Regions from separate parts of the Homo sapiens genome. Here region 2 is linked to region 1. The links are contacts of gene promoters, found by promoter capture Hi-C in blood cells and fetal thymus (Javierre and others, 2016). All regions are on one chromosome and are shown on one strand. Each heading gives the region's core, a stretch centred on a gene start or on the middle of the fragment in contact. The rest is flanking DNA. Distances are from core to core; before and after follow the strand shown.

Region 1 (4,927 bases), core at 2,251-4,750:
CTTGTATTTTCTATTTTAATCATTTTGTGATGAAATTAAACTCCATTTCTAGATCTAGGCCCCCAAGGCTGAAGTCCTTTGCTTGTGTCCCCAAAGAAGTGTGGGGGAGGAAGATGGAGGTGTGAGGAAGTGGGGGGCCTCTACATTGAGAGGAAAATGTGTCCTTATATAGACAATGCCTCACCCCTCCCACTCCTGGGCTCTGGACTCAAGCTCTCTGGGCAGCGTTTTTTTTTTTTTAATCTCCCCCAAGAGGCTGGTTCCCTGAACTCTGACCCCACGCAGGGGGCATGAGGTCTTGGGAAGCTTCTGGGAGGGGTCCAGCTTCTAGGGGCCCCCAGTGGGGCAGGGCAGAGGGGCTGGGCTCCAGCCTCTCCCTGGGTTGGCTCATCCCTCCTTGCTGGCCTCTCTCTCTGACTGAGTGCAAGCAGTGTGCTAGCGTAGTAAGGAAGAGAGATCAGGATGCTTGCGCTTTCTGGCTCTGCTGCTTAGGAGTTGTGAGTCCCTGGGCAAGTTCCTGAACTTTTCTGAGTCTGAGCTTCCTCACAAGGAAAACCGAAATAACATCACCTCAATAGAAGAGTGAGGGAGGTGTGGCCAAGTCGTAAGGTGATGGCTGACATTTACTGGGTATTGACTCCATGTATGCACGGTGCTAAGTACTTTGTATGCTCAGATCAGGTTGAACTACACCATTCGCCAGTATTGAAGTGTTTTTGACCTACAAAAACAGCAATTTTATTTAGTTTCACATAATACCCGTTAGTTGTCTGTGATGATTTAAAGAATAAATGTGGGCCAGGCGCGGTAGCTCACGCCTGTAATCCCAGCACTTTGGGAGGCTGAGGCGGGTGGATCACCTGAGGTCAGGAGTTTGAGACCAGACTGGCCAACATGGTGAAACCCCTTCTCTACTAAAAATACAAAAATTAGCTGGGCGTGTTGGCGGGTGCCTGTAACCTCAGCTACTTGGGAGGCTGAGGCAGCAGAATGGCTTGAATCCAGGAGACAGAGGTTGCAGTGAGCCGAGATCATGCCACTGCACTCCAGCCTGGGCAAAAAGAGTGAAACTCTGTCTCAAAATAAATAAATAAATAAATGTGGGGGTGGGAGCAGACTTAGTAATATGGCAGGGCTGAGGCCAAGAAAGGAGGGGTGGATCAAAATCAGCTCAGCAATAATCAGAAGTGCCCAGGGGCCAAGATAACAGTGGATCACAGTGGTTAGGCACCAAGGCTTGGGTTTAACTTCCCACTCTGCTAGTTAGGGTGACCTTGAGCAGGTGACTCAGTCTCTGTTTGCCTGAGATGAGGCTATTGTTACTATCACTCCCCTGAAGCCCTCTTGCAAGGTCACCAATGACCTCAATGTTGGCAAACCCAATAGCCAGTGCTCAGGCTCATCTTTATTTGGCAGCAGCACCTGACCCTTCCTTCCTTCCTTTCTTCCTTCCTTCCTTCCTTCCTACCTTCATTCCTTCCTTCCTTTCCTTCCTTCCCTCCTTCCTTCCTTCCCTTTCTTCCTTTTCTTCCTTTCTTCTTTTTTTTTGACAGGGTCTCCCTCTGTCCCACAGGCTGGAGTACCGTGGTACAATCTTGGCTCACTGTAGCCTCAACCTCCCATGCTCAAGCTGTCCTCCTGGCTCATCCTCCTGAGTAGCTGGGACTACAGGCATGCCCCACAGCATCCAGGCAACTTTTGTATTTTTTGTAGAGACAGGGTTTCACCATGTAGCCCAGGCTGATATTGAACTCCTGGCTCAAGCAATTCACCTGCTTCTCAAAGTGTTGGTATTACAGGTGTGAGCCACCACACCTGGCCTGGCACACTAATCTTGATCATTCCTTCCTTTTTGAAGTTCTTAGCATTTGGTTTCTGGGACACCCCCATCTCCTGGGTTTCTTCCCATCTCACTGGAGTACTTCCTTCTTAGTCTTCTTCGCAGGCCCCTGTCCTGCCCCTGCCTCTCTCTCTCTCCCTCTTCTTATAGCCACCTCTGTACTCTCCAGGGACCTCATTCAACCCCAGGGCAGTGAATGGCCTCTGTGTGTGGATGGCTCCCTGTATCCCACCTCCAACTCTGACCTCCCCCTCAACTCCAGGTTCACCTAAACACCTGCCTATGTGACAGGACCGCTTGAGAGGTCAAATAGCAATCTTAAACTTCACATGCACTAAACTCTTGATCGTGCCCCCCAGCCCCACCATTGGTCTTCACTCCCCCATGAAAACTGAGTCATCTTTAACTTCTCTCTCTCTCCATACCCAGCTCACCAGCAACTCATATCAGCTCTACAGCCAAAGAGGTTATGAATCTGATCACTTCCTGTCCCTATTGTGGCAACCCCCCATTGTGCTCCCTGCTTTCCCTCTGACTCATCCTGGGTCTGGTCATCACATGGACATGAGTGATCCTTCATAAATGTCCAGTGTTGGCCCATAACACTTAGAATAAAATCTCATTTTTTTTGTCCTAGCCAACACTGCCTGGATCTGGTCCACGGTCCTCCTCAACCTCACTTCCTACCATCCTGCCCCTTGCTCATGGCTCCACCACCCTGGCCTCCTGCCTCCTGAAACGCCTTAAGCACAGTGTCCTCAGCTCAGGGCTATGCTCTTGTTGTCACCTTGTCCCTCTTCCTTCCCTGCTTCCTTCAGTCTCTGTTCAAATGTTCCTTCCTCAGAGGGGCCTCAGTGACCACCCCCTCCAAAAATGGTATTCTCTCCCCCATTACCCTGCTTTGCTTTCTTCATAGCTGGTGACATTACCTGAGGATATGACACAGCTGTTCACCTGCATTACTGCCTCTTTCCCACTAGAAAAGTCCCAAAAGCTGGAACTTTTCCTACTTCATTTACTGTTTTAAAACCAGCTCCTATGGCAGTGCCTGGCACAGAGTGGGCACTCAGATATTAGTTGAATGACTGAGTGATGGCATGAGTACCCACTGGAGTGTCCCTTCCCATCACAATCATGCATGACCCTCTGTGGTCACAAAGCCCTGGTCTCACTGGTACCAAAAGCTGGATGCCCTGGCCAGGGTGGCTGGGGACAGGAGGCCTGAGTTGAGAATGACTGGATGAGCCAGTGAGGGGCTAAGGTGTTTTTTGAGTCCTCTCATGGGATTCTGGCCTAGGAAGGACTTAGTTTCCTCACTGCTCATCTGGGTTGGAATGAGAGGAAAGGGGTTACTGAGTCCCACGTGCAGAAGGACCTCCCCACAGGGAGGACTGTTACTCAGGGAGGTCTGGATCACTCTGGGAGCGGGCCCCACCATGGTAATTCACTGCCCGGGGAGGCTGTGTCAGGCTGTGGAAAGGAACAGGTTTCAGAGCCAGACCACTGAGTCCTGCCAGGATATTTCATGTTGTAATTCACTGTGCAGGGTGGAGCCCCAACACCAGATCTACACCTACTGTCTGTGGGGCCTGGAAGGCAGCTGACCCTTGGTGAGCCTCAGTTTGCTCACTGAGAAAGACACCCTGCCCAACTGTTGCATAGACTGAAAATGCAAAGTGCACAAGAGTCTCTGGCCAGGACAGGCATTGAAGGTCAGCTTGTTCTCCTCCTGGGTGAGTTTTCGGGCAAGTCCACGTTTACTCTAGGTTTTAGCTCCCTTCTATGTGGCACAAGTTAACCCTTGTCTTCTGCTGAGTTCAGAAGGAAGGGTGATATGACCATAATCAAGCAAGTTCATAAACACCCCTTTTCTTAGGAAAAAGACCCAAACACATGATTAAAATAGCCAGCTGTGCTGTGTTATAAAGGTTACATCCCTTATCTTTATGATATGAGGGAATCAGTAGTGTGGGTAATGCTATTTTAGCCCCATTTGCCTCATTTTTATGAGATTTTGAAAGATATGTTGGCCTCAGATGTATGGTCTCGATGGTGTTTGGCACAGGATGAGTGAATGATAGCGACTTTCAGGGGCCAGGCCAGCCCTGCTGAGTGGCTGGGGAAGCCAGTCTGAAGTCAGCACCAGCTGTAGTCCCATCGCCTAGTGGAGATGGACCTCATTGCCCCATAAGAGGGATGAAGGCCTGGTTCTATGCAGAGGTTGGGTGGGCAGTTGCAGCTGGAGACAGGCTGGAAGAGCCCACACAATGGCTGGGCTTGAAAATTCAGTCATTGTTGCTGCTTACGGCAAGTAGTTCTTCAACGTATTCTGATTCATGACTCCTTTTGAGAATTTGACTAAAAACTATGGACCCCTCTCTTCAGAAAGATGCTCCAACCCACATAATGCAACATTTTGCCTGTAATTTCAGGGGAGGCACAAACCCACTGGGATCCCCAAGTCAAGTATGATGCCTTGGGGAGTAGGGAGAGCTGAGGGGATGAGGGGACAGAATGAGGGCAGGAGATGTAGCCTAGCCAGTGGGGTGGAGCACCAGACGATAGAAAGGCGACAGGGGAGCTGTCAAAGTGACAACAGTCCTTTACTACTTTCCTAGAGAGGCTCTTGATGAAAAAATAAAGCTAAATGTGGGCAAACAGGATGCTAATATATCTGTAAGTATAGCAACAGGGAAAGAAAAGCAGGGGGAAGAGGCCACCCTTATCCTTTCTGTCAACAAAACCAAACCCAATGGACTGAGAGTCAGTCCTGTTATCTCAGCTGGGCTCCCTCCTATCACTTTTCTAGCTCTTCTTCCAAGACCCAGCTCCCAATTTGCAGCTGGAGGCCTAACTCTGCATTTGAAGGAATTAGGGATAAATAATGATGGTCATCAAGATTAGTGGAGAGGACAAGGGAATCTGCCAGCAGACTCTGGGCAAACAAAGCCTTTTAAGTTGCAGAATGAATTCCCCAAACCTTAAAAAAAAAATCCCCAAGTGTATTCAGTAGGGGAAAAGGAAATTTCATCTTGAAAACAAATCTAGAAAAGGTGCTGACATTTTACAGATAGGGAGAATGAATTG
Region 2 (4,928 bases), core at 1,254-3,753, 38 kb before region 1:
TCCACCAGGTCTCCCCTCTGTCCCATCCTCTCTAGCCTCATGGTCCCCAGATATACCCTTCTCCACATCTCATCCAACCCTTTCTGACTTTCAGAACCTACACACAACTGTGACAGTCTCTTTCTGCCCTGGCTCAAAAGTCAGCAACTTATAACTGCTTCTAGTGTCAAATCCATGTAGCCATTCATTGAACATTGTTGACGGCATCCCAGCACTGGACCAAGCATCTTGAATGCCAGTTATTGTGGGCATTCAAAACATATTACACAGAAGGCATGGTCTCTCCTTTCTTATAGCTTATAATTTAGTTCAAGAGGCAAAAACATATATACTTGAAGTAACAATTTACAAAGTGTACCATAATCACGCACATATCACCATGGTTCAAAGTGAATACACAACAGAGGAGGGTGACACAAAATGGTGCAATTGTAAGTGAGAGCAATTATTCTTAGAAGAAATAGCCTTTGAGTTGCGTCTTACAGGAAATGATGGAATACAATGAAGGCGTGAGTGATGTCACACAAATGAAACCAATAGGTATTTGTGAGGCAGGGCAGGGAGGGACACAGTCATGCCAGCTGCTCCCATGGCCGTGTCAGGAGTGAACAGGGTCCGGGGAACAGGAGGGGTTCCCCGGAACAGGGGGGCATCCAGCACAGCACGCCCACTTCAGAGCTCCAGGCCTTCCTTTGCCTCGATACAGGTTTGTTTGTTGACAATCGAGCCACTCTGGCTTCCTGACCTTGGCTGATTGCCTTTCCCTTCCTGGGCCTTGGTTTCCCCATCTGTAAGAGGAAGGGTTGCACCTGATGTCTCTGGCCCTGGCTAGCTCTGGATGCCACGCTTCGTCATGTGCTGTGTGTTCCTCAGCCATCGTCTGGGCTGCGTCCTGGCTGACAGCTGGACAATGAATGGGAGGTTTCCCAAGGAAGCAAAACAAAGACAGGAGAGAAAGCATAGAGGGAGGAAAAGGATTTTTAAAGTGTGAGTGTGTGTGTATGTGTGTGTGTGTGAGAGAGAGTGGGCATATGAGTGTGAGTGCGGGTGTACCGGTGTGAGTGTGAGTGTGAGTGTGTTTAGAGTTCTTAAAATGCTGCTGACAAAGCTTAGTTTTTTTAAAAAAAGACTAAAACTAAACATGAATGGGATTGGAAAGTATATTTTATCACAGAAAGGAAGCTGCCATGGAAAAATAAAAAAGGATGAGATAGACAGGGACACCCAGATAGTCTAGCTGAAGTATCAGAGGTGGGTTTCACGGTTACTGTCGGGATGTGGGCCTAACTGGTCAATATTCCTAAATCCACATGTTGGAGAGTTAAGAGTGGCATTGTCCAATTCACAGGTGGAAAGGATGACCTGAGAGCAATGCAACTAGAAGCCAGGAATGGAGTTAGTGTTCAGGAGAATCTGATCATTCTACCTTTTAGGGTGGTGAACCCTAAAGTCCATAGTTAATACCCAAGACAGAAACAGCAGCTCCTCAATCTACTGCTTGGGCTGTCAGATGCTGTCACAGGGCAAAGTGTGCATGGGCCCCAAACAGGGGTGAGTACTGGGTAGCTGTTGAGAGCGCCCTGGGTGCCTGCCCTGGAGCTCTGGCTGTCGGCAGTCCAAAAGCCACAATGGAGCTGGAGGTGGCAAGCAAGACCACTGAAGGGAAGGGCTATGTCTTAATCAGAAAAGGTGAGGCCTCTGAGGTTGGGAAAGAAGTCTAAAATGGACATGACTTTAAAGAGAATCACACAATCGCCAAGGATGAGATGAGAGTTTCAGACTTTTCATCAACTCATGACTACTGCATCTTGGGGGAACCATTTAGTGTTCTACCTCACGTAGGAGGAAGGCTGGAGGGATATGGAACTCACACATGAGAAGTACCACTAGAATAATAAGTATGTTCAATAGACATTTAGGTTAGTTCAGTGATGATATTATAAACAGGGTTTTAAGAGAAGCAACAATATTGGAGTCAATGAGTGATGGGACACCAGGTGGACCAGTCACTGGACTAGGTCTTCGACACAGAATCATCCTATTTACTGTCAGGGAGGCCCCTGTCTTGACCTGTGGTGCTGCTGCCTGATATAGTGGTTCACCAGTTGAGTCATCCTTTATTTCTTGTTCCTGTGCCACATTTTCCCGGCGTGGCATGGAGACCAGTGTATTCCAAGCAGCAGAGTGAGAGGGAAAGGAGAGGGCAGCTTTCCTGGCCTGGTGTCAGGAGAAGCAGTCTTGCCAATGGCCCGGCAGCAGGAGGCTTTCCCTGCGTGCCTTGAAGGGGGCATCCAGTCCTAGAGCTGGCCCCTGCCTGTCACTGTGAGTCCAGGTAGACAGCCACAGGGCCAGCCTCTGGCCTCACTCATGAGCCCACATCCATGCCTCACCTTCGCCTCTCACCCCAGAGGTCTGTGGCAGATCTGATTCTCATGCTAATGCTCTGGGGGAAGGACCTAGATCATTCTCAAGGAATTCCAGCCCCTCTTTCTAGTGCACTGTGTTCCTTTATGCTGCAGGAAACTCGGATCAAGAGTCCGGACTAAGCAGGGAGCAGTGGCAAGTGCCTGTAGTCCCAGCTATTCGGGAGGCTGAGGCGGGAGGAATGCTTGCGTCTAGGAGTTCAAATCCAGCCTGTGCAACAGAGTGAGACCCGATCTCTTTAAAAAAGAGAAAGATTCCAGGCTGCTACATCCCCTTCTGCTTTTCCCTTCTTGTCCTGCCTCTCTTCTATTTGACCACAAGGGGAGGAGTGAGAGAGAAGTAGAGGAAAGACCACAGTTCAATTAGCAGAGCTCTTGGTGCATAAAGGGTTGTTGAGAAAGGTGAACTGGTTTCCATCTTTCCACTAGGGAAGGGTCTTCCACTGAACTTAAAAAAAAAAAAAATCTGTTCAGAATGAGCTATGAGATCCATGAGCTAAGTGGAAGGCTATTTGGAAGATGGTTCTGAGATATTTCTGCAAACAGATGAGAGTCTCGTTACCCTGGAGTGTTTGGGAGAGGATCAGCTGAGTGCTCAGGACCCTCACATGGCACAAGTCCAGTCAGTCCCCTGGACAGAGAATTGTCCCTTCCTGCAGCCAAGGACTGTTGCACACCCAGAGAACACTAGAGGGCACCCCCGCCCCGGAGACGGCCTCTGAGGCCAGGGCGTAGCTGCAGCCTGGGATGGGAGCGGTACAGGCTTTATATCTCGAACTGTCCTGGGGGTTGCAAGGAGGCTCCAGTTCTGCAAGAAGCCTCAGTCACAGTAGCTGTTTTGCTAACAATTATACAGACTAGAACAAATTAGGGTAAGGAGCAGGGATGGAGTGGATTTGAGTGACAGCAGGATTTGAGGAGGAGTACAGTTCAAGACCTGGCTGGGCTGGGAGGGAGCGGGGCTGTGGTAAGGTTCTGGCTCTGTGCACTTGGGTTTGGGAGTACATTGTCAGTTCAGGGACCCTAGTCTTAGGAGTGGCTCTGGCATAGAGAAGCCACTGGAGCTCCACGGGGAACCCATGCTTTGTCCCCCAGTGTATCCCCAGTGCCCATGGCAGTGCCTAGAACACAGGAGGGGCACAGAACACATGGTGAGTGGATGTGGGATGAGGGCTAGGGTACCAACAGGGATGCAAATGAGGCATGAGAATGAAGTAGAAGAGCGAGAGGCAGGAGTGGCAGTGGCTGTGGTGGTAGTGGTGAAGGTCAGAGCCAACATTAGCCGGGCTTCATGGAGTGTGGGTTAATCAGCACTGCCTTTTTAATATGATCCCACCCCATCTGCTCCACAGAAATGACCTACAATGACCTGTCACTTGATCCCACCTCTCTGCCAACACACACACACACACGTGCGTGAACACACACGCCACTTCCCTGAGAGCCATTTCCCTCTTCAGCAGAGGGATGGCCTATGAAGCTTTATAACTAACAAGCATCTGAGCAGACCGTGGAGGACTTTTGCCTGGAATCCCCTCAACCAGAGTCCTCTGCCCTGAGGCCTAACACTTGCCAACTGTTCTGCCCTCTTCCTCCTCCCCCTTGGTAATCCAGCCAGCCTCAGCTGGGGAGTAGCTTCCTGTCTGGAAGCCCTGGGTGGACTGGACTCCTCCTCTGGATTTCAAGTGATTTCAACATTGCCCTTTGTCTATTCCCAGCTGGGAGGGGTGGCAGCAGGGGAGGGGAGTCTGAAGGCCCAGAGAGGGTTCAGCGGGCTGATGGCAGGGAACAAGGGAGAGGCCACTTGCCCCAGACAGGCAGTCACAGCTCTTCCTCCTGGCAGAGTCTCCACACAGCCCTGGGAGCAGCTGTCCTAGACCCCTGGGGGCCACACCTTGTAGCTCCCGTGGCCTCTGGTCCTGCTGCCTGGGGTTAGTCGGGGATTCTCCAGTCTCTCCCTCTTTACACCATAGCACAGACCTGGATGATTTCCTTTCCAGCCAATGAACATCTTCACACTGCAATCTTACTCCTTTTCCTGTCACTTTTCCAAGTAACATCCTAACACCACAGACTGGAACTTGATTGCCCCCCTGGGACCCACACTCTATGCAGCCCCCACTCTGCTCATTTCAGAGGGATGTTGTGTGTGTGTGTGTGTGTGTGTGTGTGTGTGTGTGTGTGTGTAAGAAGACAGTGATGGCAGTTTTGTTACTCAGTGTCCCCTGACAGACATTTGGGAGTGGCTAGTGGTTGGGATCCCTGCGAAAGCTGTCCCAGGAGCAGGCATCACGTCTCCGTGACTTGCACCATAGCTCTCAAGGAGACCTGCTCTATGCATATTGACATGGCTCAACGGGTAAAGGCCGCCTGACACACAGCTGCTAGCATAAAATTGTAAAGTTGGTATGTTTCCCATTGGTACCCTAACTTTCTTTCTTTCTGGAGCCCTTGTTTAATTGAAAGTAAAATTTTAATACCTATTTTGTACCTAATTTTCAATTT

The links. Contacts are between HindIII fragments. The CHiCAGO score rates a contact against its expected background, and 5 or more counts as called.
Region 2: a fragment that was not itself captured here is called in contact with the fragment with the promoter of MYLK-AS2 in region 1 in 2 of 17 cell types (megakaryocytes and endothelial precursors); the score reaches 6.4 in megakaryocytes.

The regions. Positions count from the first base shown.
Region 1 is chr3:123,686,144-123,691,070 of GRCh38, forward strand. MYLK-AS2 (MYLK antisense RNA 2) reads left to right here and starts at 3,501. Exons shown (of 3, transcript NR_046629.1): 1 at 3,501-3,573. All of the region lies in intron 19 of MYLK (myosin light chain kinase), which reads right to left. The HindIII fragment of the contact is 6,889 bases long and covers 305-4,927 here.
Region 2 is chr3:123,649,420-123,654,347 of GRCh38, forward strand. All of the region lies in intron 24 of MYLK (myosin light chain kinase), which reads right to left. It overlaps LOC124909421 (a long non-coding RNA gene), which reads left to right. Exons shown (of 2, transcript XR_007096038.1): 1 at 1-706. Among named protein-coding and RNA genes, the nearest start is that of MYLK-AS2, 38 kb to the right of the region's middle. RefSeq lists enhancers at 163-664, 665-1,164, 4,293-4,793. The HindIII fragment of the contact is 2,795 bases long and covers 1,107-3,901 here.